5 separate regions of the Homo sapiens genome follow, and regions 1, 2, 3 and 5 are each linked to region 4. Evidence: promoter capture Hi-C in 16 types of primary human blood cells and fetal thymus (Javierre and others, 2016). All regions are on one chromosome and are shown on one strand. Each heading gives the region's core, a stretch centred on a gene start or on the middle of the fragment in contact. The rest is flanking DNA. Distances are from core to core; before and after follow the strand shown. Region 1 overlaps DLG2 (discs large MAGUK scaffold protein 2). Region 2 overlaps SYTL2 (synaptotagmin like 2). Region 3 overlaps DLG2 (discs large MAGUK scaffold protein 2). Region 4 holds the start of EED (embryonic ectoderm development). Region 5 overlaps LOC105369422 (a long non-coding RNA gene).

Region 1 (2,725 bases), core at 146-2,645, 660 kb after region 4:
AAAATGCTACAGAGAAATAGATATTGTAAAGAAAAAACAATCACAACTTCTGGAAGTGAAAGACACGCTTAGAGAAATACAAAATGCACCAGAAAGTTTCAACAATGATGTTGAATGAGTAGGAAAAAGAATGTCAGAGCTTGAAGACAAGGCTTTCGAAGTAACCTAATCCAAAAAAGACAAAGAAAAAAAAATGAACAAAGCCTCCAAGAAATTTGTGATTATGTTAACCAAACCCAAGAATAATTGGTGTTCCTGAGGAAGAAGATAAATCTAAAAGTTTGGGAAACATAATTGAGGAAACCTTGCCTGGCCTCACCAGAGAACTAAACATCCAAATACAAGAAGCTCAAAAAACACCTGGTAAATTCATCACAAAAAGATCATTACCCAGTCACATAGTTGTCATCAGGTTATATAAAGTCAAGAACAAAGGAAAGAATCTCAAGAGCTGTGAGGCGAAAGCATCAGGTAACCTATAAAGGAAAACCTATCAGATTAACAGCAGATTTCTCAGCAGAAACCCTATAAGCCAGAAGTGAATTGGGGTCTATCCTTAGCCTCCTCAAACACAGTATATTTCAGCCAAGAATTTTGTATCCAGCAAAACTGAGCTTCATAAATGAAGGAGAGATAAGGTCATCTTTCAGACAAACAAATGTTGAGTGAATTCATCACTACCAAGTCAGCACCACAAGAAATGCTAAAACGAGATCTAAATCCTGAAACAAAACCTCGAAATACACCAAAATAGAACCTCGTTAAAGTGTAAATCTCACAGGGCCTATTAAACACTAACAAAAAGAAAAAACCCAAGATGTTCAGGCAACAGCTAGCACGATGAATAAAACAGTACCTCACATCTCAGTACTTATGTTGAATGTAAATGACCTAAATGCTCACTTAAAAAATACAGAATGGCAGCATGGATAAAAATCCACCCACCAAGTATCTGCTCTCTTCAAGAGATTCACTTAACGCATAAGAACTCACTTAAGGTAATGGGGTGGAAAAAGATACCCCATGAAAATGGAAACCAAAAGTGAGCAGGAGTAGCTATTCTTATATCAGACAAAACAGACTTTAAAACAACAACAGTTGAAAAAGACAAAGGGAGACATTATGTAATGATAAAAAGATCCATCCAACAAGAAAATATCATAATCCTAAATATATATGCACCCAACACTGGAGCTCCCAAATTTATAAAATAATTATTACTAGACCTAAGAAATGAGATAGATGGCAACACAATAATAGTGGGGGACTTCAATGCTTCACTGACAGCACTAGAGAGGTCATCAAGACAGAAAGTCAACAAGGAAACAATGGATTTAAACTATACCCAGAACAAATGGACTTAACAAATATTTACAGAACATTCTACCCCAAAACCGCAGAATATACATTCTACTCATCAGCACATGGAACATTCTCCAAGATAGACCATAGGATAGGCCACAAAACAAGTCTCAATATTAATTTAAGAAAATCAAAATAATATCAAGTACCCTCTCAGACCACAGTGAAATAAAATTGGAAATTAACTCCAAAAGGAACCCTCAAAACTATACAAATACTTGGAAATTCAATAATCTGCCCCTGAATGATCTTTAGGTCAACAATGAAATCAAGATGGAAATTAAAAAATTCTTTGAACTGAACAATAGTAGTGACACAGCTTGTCAAAACCTCTGGGACACAGCAAAAGCAGTGCTATGAGGAAAGTTCATAGCATTAAATGCTTACATCAAAAAGTCTGAAAGAGCATAAATAGGCAATCTAAAGTCACACCTGAAGGAACTAGAGAAACAAAGAAAAACCAACCCAAACCTAACAGAAAAAATAAGTAACAAAGATCAGAGCAGAACCAAATGAAATCAAAACAAAAAAATACAAAAGAGAAATGAAACAAAACCTGGTTATTTGAAAGATAAACAAAATTGATAGACTGTGAGACTAACCAAGAAAGGAAGAGAGAAGATCCAAATGAGCTCAATTAGAAACGAAATGGGAGCTATTACAACTGATACCACGGAAATACAAAAGATCATTCAAGACTGTTCTGAACACCATTATGTGGACAAACTAGAAAATGTAGAGGAGATGGATAAATTCCAAGAAATATACAACCCTTCTAGATTAAATCAGGAATAAATAGAAACTCTGAACAGACCAATAACAAGCAGCGAAATTGAAAGAGTAATTAAAAAGTTACCAACAAAAAAAAGTCCAGGACCAGATGGCCTCACAGCTGAATTCTATCAGACATTCAAAGAATTGGTACCAGTCCTATTGACAGTATTCCAAAAGATAGAGAAAGACGGAATCCTCCCTAAATCATTCTGGGATTTACCAAAACCCAGAAAGGACATAACAAAAAAAGAAAACTACAGACCAATATCCCTGATGAACATAGATGCAAAAATCCTCCACAAAATACTAGCTAACAATATCTAAGAGCATATCAAATGGATCATACACCATAATCAAGTGGTTTTCATACCAGGATGCAGGGATGGTTTAACATCTGCAAGTCAATAAATGTGATACAGGTTGGGTGTGGAGGCTCACGCCTGTAATCCCAGCACTTTGAGAGGCTGAGAGGGTGGATCATGAGGTCAGGAGTTCAAGATCAGCCTGGCCAACATGGCAAAACCCTGTCACTACAAAAAACATATACAAAAAAATTAGCCGGGCATTGTGGTGCACATCTGTAGTCCCA
Region 2 (2,700 bases), core at 39-2,538, 530 kb after region 4:
GTTTATTTTATAATTCTGAGTGTAAAACACTATCAGAAAAGTAATCCTCATGCTCACTAAACAAACCTACTCTAAGACACTCAACAACCAGAACAGTTTTATTATTGAGTTGTGTACAAAAATCTTGACTGTCCAGATGAAATAGTTTTTCAGCCTGCAGTGTGTTAGTGATATATCTCAAGGAGATGAACCAATAAAGTACAGACTTTGTGGTCTGAAGCTCTGTTGTGAAAAAATAAGCTAAACCAATTCACACTGACAGTATAATTTGATTCAAGTGCAGCTCCAGTTCAATAAAAACTAATGTTTTTAAAATTAACTTTGTTTTGTATTTGGTTCAACTCCTTGCTAGTTCTCTCTCTATATAATTTATAAAAACTGCATGTTGCTAATCTCATGATCCTGTGCATGTGGACTACTCTGCCTTTAACTTTTTTACAAAAACATGTTTGTTCATAGATTAAATAAAAGTATGTTTTCAACTTAATGTCTAATGTTTTCTGACAATTGTAAGAATAATTTTGAAATGGAAATGCTGCTGTTTAGTTTCCACAGTGCCTACACAACCTGATAATCCATTTTCTCACCCTGACAAACTCAAAAGGATGAGCAAGTCTGTTCCAGCATTTCTCCAAGATGAGGCAAGTTTGTCTTTTGTACCTTCAGAAAAATGGAGACAGAGGGTTGGAATTGCTATGCCAAGGTTGGTGTGTTTGTATTCCACTGTGGCAGAGATCAAAGAGGTCAGAAGGACTGGCCCTTGCCTTTCAAGTCAATAGAAGTAGTGTTGTTCATCCTGGAACAGGGAAAGGCACATCTCATTTGACTCAAACAGTAACTCCTTTTGGTTAGTGAAGTCAAATTGCATAGATTTGGGAATGTGACTTTTGTTTCAAAGTTAGTACAAAATAAGAAATCCAGGAAGGTATATGAACTGATTATTCCTCTGTAGTTTGGAGTAGACTTGATTTGTGAAAACTTAATTTAGGCAGCATGACTAGTTTGAAAGTGTTTGTTAATAAAGTAACAATGACACATCAAGCTTTAAGGAGTATTTACTGGGTGCCAGGCACTTTACATATATCATTTAATCCTTCAACAACCCTAGGAGGCAGGCACCATCATTATCCCCACACATTACAGGTGAGGAAACTGAGACTAAGGGAGATTAACCTCACTCAGCTAGAAGGGGGTTCAACCAGGACTGGAGCACAGATCCAAGTTGCCTGCTGTTAATGACTATACTATATACTGTACGGTCTTAAGAAAGCACATGACTATAATTTACTATTCATTGAGTACCTAATATGTGCCAGGTACCTAATACTCATTCTGTCATCTCACTCTTACTAACTATATGTGGTAAGGACTATTTTCTTCATTTTACAAATGAAGAAAGAGCCGCAGAGAGGTTAAATAACTTTCCCCAAATCCAATAGCTACTGAAGAGTAGATCTAGGACTTTAACTCAGGTCCTTTGACTTAATTAAGATTCCATGTTCTTGCAGTCAGGTAGTTAGGAGCCTAAGCTTTGGAGCCAGATATCCCTAGTCCTGGTTATGATACTAATTTTCTGTGTGATCATGGACACATTCAGTACCTTCTCTGAGTCTGGTTTCCTTGCACCTACCACGTGAGGTTGTGGGGTATCGGTAGGATAATGCAGGGAAAACACATAGCACAGTGCTTGGCATATAATGAGTACCTGGTAAATGTTAGCTGCTACTGTTTGTAGTTTTGGTCTGATTTCTAACGGTGAAATAAAAGGCTTCATTATCAAGAATTCTCTTAGTAGATGGAATGTTGAGGAAAGCTCTGGGCAACACATAAATTATATTCTGTCACTGGCCTGGGCATCCTTTTGTCCATTCTTGGGCCTTTGATGAACTGTATCTGCAAATATTCAGCCCTTGCCTATGGTTAAGAGCACATGTTACAGTTTCCTTTGGAAAGAATCACTCATTCTTTGGAAGTAATTCATTAGCTAGAAGCCAACAGTAGGCATGCCATGCAGTTCAACCATATAATAATATGAGGCCGGGCATGGTAGCTTATGCCTGTAATCCTGGCACTTTGGGAAACTGAGACGGGCAGATCCCTTGAGGCCCAGGAGTTTGAGACCAGCCTGGCCAACATAGCAAAACCCTGTCTCTACTAAAAATTCAAAAAATTAGCCGGGCATGGTGGCTCATGTCTATAATCCCAGCTACTTGAGAGGGTAAGGCAGGGGAATTGCTTGAACCCGGGAGGCAGAGGCTGTAGTGAGCCGAGATTGTGCCACTGCACTCCAGCCTAGGCGATAGAGTGAGACTCTAATTGAAAAAAAAAGTGTGTGTGTGTGTGTGTGTGTGTGTGTGTATATGTATTTTCGAGGCAAATTATATAAGTTCCTGGTTTTTAATTTTTCTCCTTCCTTCAGTTTTAACCTGCTGTCTCATAGCTCCACACAGAAGAGAGTTCAAATCATCTGGGTTTGTGTATCAGAGATGCCAGAATTAAGCTCTATCATTTTGCATGGGGTATAGGGTTGAACTAGGTATTAAAGAAAGTGGAAATGCAATCAGGCCTTGCTCATCTGTTCCCTTTGAGACTTATCATCAGTCACATTTGTTGAGTGCCAGTTACATGTAAAACACCATTCCAGATCAACAAGGCAGAGTCCTATCCTTCCAATAATTCACTAATGATCTGATATACTAG
Region 3 (2,700 bases), core at 72-2,571, 640 kb after region 4:
TGAATCTTGACTTGCTTGGATAATTATCTCAGCTTTCCACTTTATTCAATTTATGGAGATTAGGTTAGGGATTTTTAATTTGTATGAAAAGATCCTTGCCATTTGTCTCATTTGTTTAATTTGTCATTTTTAGATTACCTTCAAACTTTCATTAACCAGAAATAAGGATTTGAGTAGAGAGAGTTGAAGAGCATAATAGAATTGACTCCAGGTGATGATCATTCTCAATAATCAAAAGCAGCATAAAAGGGCAGCCACAATTCCAGCCCTAGATGCTGGTGTGTGAAAGCCTAACTTGGAGACTTGATTATATACGACCTTTTAAAAATATTTTAGCATTTTTTATGTGTCAAATTTTTATCCTACAGCGATGAGAGGCATAGTAAGCTCTGCTGGTTTAGAAAACATCTAGCTGTTTTGAATCAATACAGTATTTTCCCTTTATAGTTATTGGATAAATATATGCTAAATGAGTGAGTGAAATTCCCCTTACTTATCTAATTATATTTGTAGATGTGATTGTGGGAATATTGTTAATACATTTTTGAGAATTGCTCTTAATTTTACTTATTTACTTAGAGACAGGGTATTTTACTTATTTATTTAGAGACAGGGTCTCACTCTGTAGCCCAGGCTGGAGTGCAGTAGCAGGATGGTGGCCCACTGAAGCCTCGAACTCCTGGGCTTAAATGATCCTCCCATCTCAGCCTTCTGAGTAGCTGGGAGTGCAGACGTGCACCACCACACCTGGCTAATTTTAAAATTTTGTTGTAGAGAAAGGGTTTTGCTCTGTTGCCCAGGCTGGTCTCGAACTCCCGGTCTCAAGCCATCCTTCCACCTTGGCCACCCAAAGTGCTGGAATTATAGGTGTGAGCCACCGTGCCTGGCCAAGAATTGCCCTTTAAAAGAATAAACGACTAGGGTAATACCTACAACAATGCCACAGAAGCTTAAAAAAAAAGGCTTTAGTTATAATTGTATTAAAAAAAAAAAGAGAGAGAAAAGAAAAAGGTGCTCAGCACTTGTAGGTTTCCCGAAAAATGTCGGCAGACTTTAATGAGGAAATGAAAAAGACTAAAGCTTTGGGCACTAGAGGTAATCACGTGATTAGAGCCCACAGATACATATAAGTAGAGAGAGAGGTATAGTATAATTATTGTATTGTTGATCACCTACAGTGGTAAGTAAAGTAACTATTTATATTTGTAAATAGTGTGTAGGGATGGGTTAGAAAGTGAGCCACCATCATTTTGGGGAAACTGCTGATTGTTTAATTATTGACAAAATGGGGATTAAAATATTTGTCCTTGATTCAGAGTTGTTAAAACATTACGCAAGTAAAGTGTGAAATCATTTTTAAAAATTAAAGTTTATGCAAATATATTAGCACACATTTATATCACCATTCTTTGTTAATATAAATTGGAGTGAGCTCTCTGTTCATCCACATTTATTTCTATATTTCTAATCTTACTAGATAGAAGAGGAGTAGTTACGCAATGTCCTCCTCCATCTCTTATTGCCCAATTGAAATTCTCATTTCCTTCAAGGGGATAAGCTTGAAGTTTGCTATGTTATATAGGAGTATTAGGGAAGGCCTTACTACTAAGATGATATATAAGCAGAGATATGAAAGAAGTGAAGGAGCAAGCTTTATGGATACCTGAGAGAAGAGTGTTATAGGCAGAATCACAAGTATAGAGGCCATGATATAGGAGAGTTCTTGATATATTTGAGAAACAGCATACTGTGGTTGGAGTAGATTGAGCAAGAGGAGAGGTCTAAGAGCTGAAGTCAGAGAGGTGGGCCTTTGCTCTGAGTGGGATGGGGAGACACTGGAGGGTTTGAGTTGAGGAATGACATAATCTAGTTGATGACTTGAAAGGATATTTTTGGCTATTGGGTTTAGAAAAGACTGTAGGCCAGCCTGGGCAACATAGTGAGACCTCATCTCTACAAAAAAATCAGAATTCAAAAAATGATTTGGGAGGATCACTTGAGCCTGGGAGGCTGATGCTGAAATGTGCAGTGATTGCCCCACTACATTCCCATCTGGGTGACAGAGAGAGATCCTGCTTAAAAGAAAACAAAAAACAAAACAAACAAACAAAGACAGAAAGAAAAAAGAAAAAAAAGAGAAAAGACTGTAGGAGGGCAAAGGTGACAGCATGTAAACTAGTAGAACATTGCAGTAATGTAGGGGATAGATGATGATGGGTTGTGCCAGGGTGGTGGCACTGGAGGTAGGGAGAAGTGATGGGATTCTGCATATAATTTGATGTTGGAGCCCACAGGATTTACTGATGGATAGATGTAGAGAATTAGAGAAAAGAATGAATGCTGACTTCAGGAATTTGGGTCTGAATAATTGGAAGGGTGAAAGATGGAGATACATTGGAGGAGAAGCAGACTGAGGGTGGGTGGATAAGATCTGGAGTTCAGTTTTGACAAGTGAAGTTTGAGATGCTTATTAGACATCCAAATGGAAATGTTGAGCATTCAGCTGGATATGAGTCTGGAATTCAGAGTAAAGTTCTGAGCTACAGATATACATTCGGAAGTCTTGAGGGTGCTGGTAATATTTAAAACTACGGAATTAGATAAGATTATCAAGGAAACTGGGTAAGATTATCCAGGGAGTAAGATTAAAGAAGTCTTACCATGTTCAGAGGTATTCTAAACATCTTAAGCCCTCATTGA
Region 4 (2,733 bases), core at 97-2,596:
ATCGCGCACTTGGCGAAGCCAGGAACCCACACTTAAATACATCTGCCTATACCACTGTTGCCCAAAATCTTCCAGGTCGCCACCCCCCTCACCTTTATCTTAAGTAAAAACGTTCAAAGAAGAAATCACCCACTCTTACTTCCTCAAAGGTAGTCACTCCCCACCCCCAAATCAAAAATCGATCCTCTCAATTCGGCTCCTCCTACAGAAAAGGCGACCTTCAGGCGCACCCGGTCTCCGCGGACAGGACGGAGGCGGACACAAAACCCCCTTTAATAAAGTCTCCCAAACTCCGCAAATCGAAGATCACTTTCCATCCTGAAAATTCCACAAGGGTCTTAGAGTGACAACCCTTACGCTCCTTTAACAGGGTCCCTAACTCTGCCCCGTCCTTCCAACTTTCTTAGAAAAGTCTCTAACGTGCCTTTTAAACTACTAGAATCTCAGACCCGCACTCTCCCCTTAAATCCCCCCAAAGGCCAAAACACTCCCCATCACATGCAAACTGATTTCAGGGCAGACTTCTCAGACCCACGCAATCACTAGAACCACTCTCCTTTGCCTAGTTCCTGCTTGCTCTCGGCCCCACATCAAAATCCCCGTAGGCAATTTCAATTTTCTCCCGCACGCCCGCGTTTTCCTGAGTGACACCTCTCCCTCCCCCCACAGCAGCCCGCTCGTCCCCGCGCCCCCCGTTTTAAAAGAATTTAAAACTTTCACTCCGCAGTCTCGTAACTGCCAGAAGCTGCACTTACATTCTCGTCTCCAGAGAGGTCTGGATTGCTGTTCTCGTCACTGCTCAGCTTCTGCTTCTTGGCCGCAGGCATGTCTGTTCCCGCCGGCGCAGTCGACACTTCCCTCTCGGACATATTCCTCCGCCTCCCTCCAGGTTCCTGCCGCCTGGGGCGGGGCCTCCGCCACACCGCCGTCAAGCAAGCCCGGCCCGAGCTTGCCGCAAAGTTGCCGCTGCCGCCGCCACCTCCACCGCCCCCCCCACTGTCGCAAATCGCGCCCAGCCGCCGAGGCGGGCGTGCGTGCGACCCCGCCACACTGCTGAAAAAGGGGCGCGCGCGCGCGCCCTCCCGCGCGGCTTCCTGGCTCCTTCCCTTCCCCAACTCCCGTCTTGCCCTTTTCCCGCCGCCCTCCCGGCAGTCTACACGATGTAAGGTCCGTTGGATTAAGAGGGCAGTATTAAGTATGTCTCCCTTCCCACCACCGCCTCGAGAAGAGGCGAAACTCAAAGGGATGCTCCCTCACCCCCTTCCTCCTTCCAAAGACGTTTCAGCCGCAATTGGCCCGTTCCTTCGATCTCCGACCCGCTGCTAGGGAGCGAAAGTCTGTGGAATGGGCTACACCACCAATGTCCCAGGAAACGGGGGAAGATACAAGACGTCACCTCTTGCTTTAGCTGTGCATGCCACGTTTCCTTAATCTTGAACTTGGAGGACAGCGCTTCCTGACTATTCACGGAACTATTCATAACCTAATTCTTCCTTGAAGATAGAAATGCAAAAACAGTAACCTGCTTCCCCCTGGCTTCCCCCATCTGGCGAATGGAAAGTACCCGTCAGGGGATGCGCAGGCGCCGTGGCGTACTCTTGCGCTGGGTTCGTCGAAACCCGCCTCCTCCAAGCCCCTCCTCTGTTTGAATTCTCGTTTGCTGAACCAGGTAGTTTTCTACCCGGTTTCCGAATCCCAGGGTGGATTTCAAAGCGCTACCGAATTATACTCTAGACGCTTCGTAAATTCTTGTCGGATATTTATTCTGTTGACTATTTATTGTAATGAATGATTATCCTTCCAGTTGCTACCAATAGTGGTTAAGACTTAAATAGAAATATCCTAACATTATGAGACTAGACTCCAATGAGTTACAGCCAAAGTGCTCTTTTTAGCTGCTAAAGGATAGGCCCTGAACTACGCCAAGGCCTAAGAATCAGTGCTCATCTCCATTATGAGATTGTGATACTTAACCGACAATGTTTTGCTTGTTTTTGCACATCAGATACAATGAAATTCTAGAAGGCAACACAACTGTTAAACTTCACCAAAATATTTGCCTCTGTTACTATATCTATTCTCTAGCAGGTGCCAGATAACATTGGTGAGCCTTGTGGAATTATTATATGGGTCATGAAACCATAACTGAATGAGCAGCAGGAAAAGGAGAGTGATGACGAAAAATAAAATACGGCATCCGCCACCTTTTTTTTGTTTTTCTTAGAACATGATTGTGACTACTTATCTATTCGGGCTTCTGTAAAAATGTCCTCATCTGTAAAAATGAGGAGGCAGGAAGGGAGAAAGGGACCTACCATTTCTTGGGCACCTGCTTGATGTTGTATATCTTTTCTCTTCTAGACCTCATTACCCACCTAGAGTGCACCATCCATAAAATTCTAGTATACTTGAATTATTTCTGCATGATAACTTTATAACCAGGACATCAGTTTCCTTATCTGCAGATTGCAAGTCACTCTTTCTTTTGTAGATAAAGAGAGAACTCTTGGTTGAGAATGAGAAAAGGAAGTAAAGCAAAGGCAGGTCAGAATGAGAGGTTTCTGCAGTGAAGACTTTGAAATAAAGAAGCCGAAAAAAAATTAAAGTTGAGGTCTCAATGACGGCAGTCATTTGTTCAGTACTTCCAATGTTCCAGGCACTACTAAGCACTCCTCAGTTGGTGAGAAGAGATGAGACTGGAGTAGAGTAAGCTCCTGACAAAGTAAGACGTGC
Region 5 (2,700 bases), core at 88-2,587, 790 kb before region 4:
AAGATCACACCACTGTTGCCTTGGCAACAGAGAGAGACTCTATCTCAAAAAAAAAAAAAAAAAAAAAACGGGGGGGCGGGGGCGGGGAGAAAAGGGCATACTTCCTGTTTTTAAAAAAACTTCCCAGAAGATCCATACAAACTACTACAACTTACGTTCCTTGGACAAAGCTTAATCACATGGCCACACTTCATTGCAAGAGAGGATGGTGAATACAATCTTTTTTAATTAATGGGACAAATGCCCAGCTAACATTTGAGGTTTTATTACTGAGCAAAATGGAAAAAACAGATATTAGAGGCAACTAGCAGTGTCTGCCATAGTTCTATGTCTCTGGCTACCCAAATATCCGGGCACACCATTCTTTCTACAGATAGACATACCTTCCCTTTTCCAAGGGAGACAACCTAAAATTCCATGCAGTTGCTGAATCCTAGCCAAAGTCCAGAATATTCCTCAGGACCAGATGCAGATCTCATGATAAAGTTATCATCCGCCTCAACACATCCAATATACAATGGTAGAATAGGAACAAGATAATCACAATTTTTTTCAAATCTCCAATTCAGAAACTAAGAAGATCAAAAACACAGCATAAACTTATCCAAAAAATTACAGAAATAGCAGTGCAGGCTTATTTTTTTTCAATAATCCATTCCTGAATATCTGTGATCCTTTCACAAGAAAATGCTGAATAGGAACTTAGTTTTAAATGGGAAAAAATAAAATGCATTACATATCAACCAAAAAATTCTTAACAAGTATTTAAAACATAGTATCAAATATTAACAAAAAATGATCATGTTAAGATGTACAATACTATACAAATAACATCTTATTCACCAAACAATTAATACGAGCTGGGCACGGTGGCTGATACCTATAATCCCAACACTTTGGGAGGCTGAGCTTGGTGGATCACCTGAGGTCATAAGTTCAAGACCAGCCTGGCCTATGGTGAAACTCCATCTCTACTAAAAATACAAAAAGTAGCCAGACATGGTGGTGGACACCTGTAATCCCAGCTACTCAGGAGGCTGAGGCAGGAGAATCACTTGAACCTGGGAGGCGGAGGTTGCAGTGAGCCGAGATGGTGCCACTACACTCCAGCCTGGGCAACAGAACAAGACTCCGTCTCAAAAAAAAAAAAATTTTTAATATGATTGTTAACTCTCAGTTGCTTCTGAATGTAATAGCACAATATAGTTTTCATGCCTGATAATAAACAATATGTTTACTATGTGGCCCAGCAATTACACATTAATAAATAAGGAAATTTTAAAATTACAATTAAAACCAGGTGGTTTCTTTTAGTTAACTGTTTTTTGTTTGTTTTGAGACATGGTCTCACTCTGCTACCCAGGCTGAAGTGCAGTGGCGCAATCACAGCTCACAGCAGCCTATATCCCCTGGGCTCAGGAGATCCTCCTGCCTCAGCCTCCTGAGTAGCTGGGACCACAGGTACGCCACCACACCTGGCTAATGTTTTTAAATTATTTGTAGGGTCTCCCTGTGTTACCCAGACTGCTCTTGAACTCCTGGGCTCAAGCTGTCCACCCACCTCAGCCTCCCAAACTGCTGGGATTACAGGTGTGCACCAACACACCTGGTCCTAATTAACTGTTAAATGGAGACTTGAAGCATAAAGAAATTTGAGAAAAAGGGGATGGTGCCAAAGGGGACAATGCTGATGAGCTGGGTGGCAAAGGGGTGATTTCAGGGAAACTCCCAAGTTCAAAAGAAAGGATACTCTATCTTTTCTAGTGCTGCTATGGAGATTCCAAAACAGGAAGGCATTGATAAATCCTCAGGGGAGATGATCTGTGCTTTAGGATGCAAAAAAAATTGCAAAATGGAGCAGTATGCAGTTAAACCAGTAGCTTACATTTGTAAATTTCTTTATATGGTATTATAAGATATAGCAGGCTGTTTTTTAAAAGAAAGCCTTCTCTTCATGCCACCATTAAGTTTAAAGATAATGTTAAACATTGCATCTGCATGGGTCATTTATTCTTTTAGGTTGGCTATGACAGTGGCTTGATTGGATACTTTCTGGGGGCTTCATTGTTTCTTCTTTTTCATTAAAAAAACGCAGGGAGGGCTTTAGGGTTCATCAACAAGGTGAAGCAAAGAGTTTCTCCAAAGAAGGTGCACAGTGGATGAAGAAAACTAATCTGGCAATTTATGATGGAATTCAAAGGCTTTGAAGAAACGCCAAGATGAAAATTGTTGCCCCTTTCTTTGTGATGGAAGAATGAAAAAAAAAAAAAAAACACAAAGTTGTTGCTCTTGTAGGATTCTAGTTTTGAAGATGTCAACGAAAAAGAATGGAAGAGCTCTTAAGATCTAATGCAGAGGATTTAACGACACTAATCTAGTTTAGATCTACATGCAGTCATTGTAGAAATAATTATCAGGCACAAGTACAATGGCAAAGTACGGCAAACTCGAAGTATGACACTGTAGTAGCTCTTGATTCCAGCAACAGTCAGTAACCAAGCTTTTCACAAAGCTACATATGATTCTGATTTTCTTTTCTTTTCTTTTCTTTTGAGACGGAGTCTTGCTGTGTCACCCAAGCTGGAGTGCAATGGGACGATCTCGGCTCACTGCAAACTCCGCCTCCTGGGCTCAAGTGATTCTTCTGCCTCACTAGCTGAGATTAGTGGCACCCACCACCACACCCGGCTAATTTCTGTA

What was found. The method cuts DNA at HindIII sites, captures the fragments that hold promoters and counts their contacts. A CHiCAGO score of 5 or more calls a contact.
Region 1: a fragment that was not itself captured here is called in contact with the fragment with the promoter of EED in region 4 in 2 of 17 cell types (non-activated CD4 T cells and naive CD4 T cells); the score reaches 6.2 in non-activated CD4 T cells.
Region 2: a fragment that was not itself captured here is called in contact with the fragment with the promoter of EED in region 4 in 3 of 17 cell types (activated CD4 T cells, total CD4 T cells and naive CD4 T cells); the score reaches 7.7 in activated CD4 T cells.
Region 3: a contact is called between a fragment that was not itself captured here and the fragment with the promoter of EED in region 4, in 15 of 17 cell types (non-activated CD4 T cells, activated CD4 T cells, naive CD8 T cells and 12 more). The highest score is 21.8, in non-activated CD4 T cells.
Region 5: a contact is called between a fragment that was not itself captured here and the fragment with the promoter of EED in region 4, in 2 of 17 cell types (non-activated CD4 T cells and naive CD4 T cells). The highest score is 6.3, in non-activated CD4 T cells.

What each region holds. Positions count from the first base shown.
Region 1 is chr11:85,585,846-85,588,570 of GRCh38, reverse strand. All of the region lies in intron 3 of DLG2 (discs large MAGUK scaffold protein 2), which reads left to right. Among named protein-coding and RNA genes, the nearest start is that of DLG2, 40 kb to the left of the region's middle. The HindIII fragment of the contact is 4,371 bases long and covers 1-2,725 here.
Region 2 is chr11:85,712,354-85,715,053 of GRCh38, reverse strand. SYTL2 (synaptotagmin like 2) reads left to right here. Exons shown (of 20, transcript NM_206927.4): 12 at 547-641. Among named protein-coding and RNA genes, the nearest start is that of CCDC89, 28 kb to the right of the region's middle. The HindIII fragment of the contact is 487 bases long and covers 1,045-1,531 here.
Region 3 is chr11:85,601,823-85,604,522 of GRCh38, reverse strand. All of the region lies in intron 2 of DLG2 (discs large MAGUK scaffold protein 2), which reads left to right. Among named protein-coding and RNA genes, the nearest start is that of DLG2, 24 kb to the left of the region's middle. The HindIII fragment of the contact is 478 bases long and covers 1,083-1,560 here.
Region 4 is chr11:86,243,366-86,246,098 of GRCh38, reverse strand. EED (embryonic ectoderm development) reads right to left here and starts at 1,346. Exons shown (of 12, transcript NM_003797.5): 1 at 756-1,346. The coding sequence starts at 869. RefSeq lists enhancers at 834-1,362, 1,363-1,893. The HindIII fragment of the contact is 4,943 bases long and covers 1-2,733 here.
Region 5 is chr11:87,033,633-87,036,332 of GRCh38, reverse strand. All of the region lies in intron 1 of LOC105369422 (a long non-coding RNA gene), which reads left to right. Among named protein-coding and RNA genes, the nearest start is that of TMEM135, 3.0 kb to the left of the region's middle. The HindIII fragment of the contact is 2,330 bases long and covers 173-2,502 here.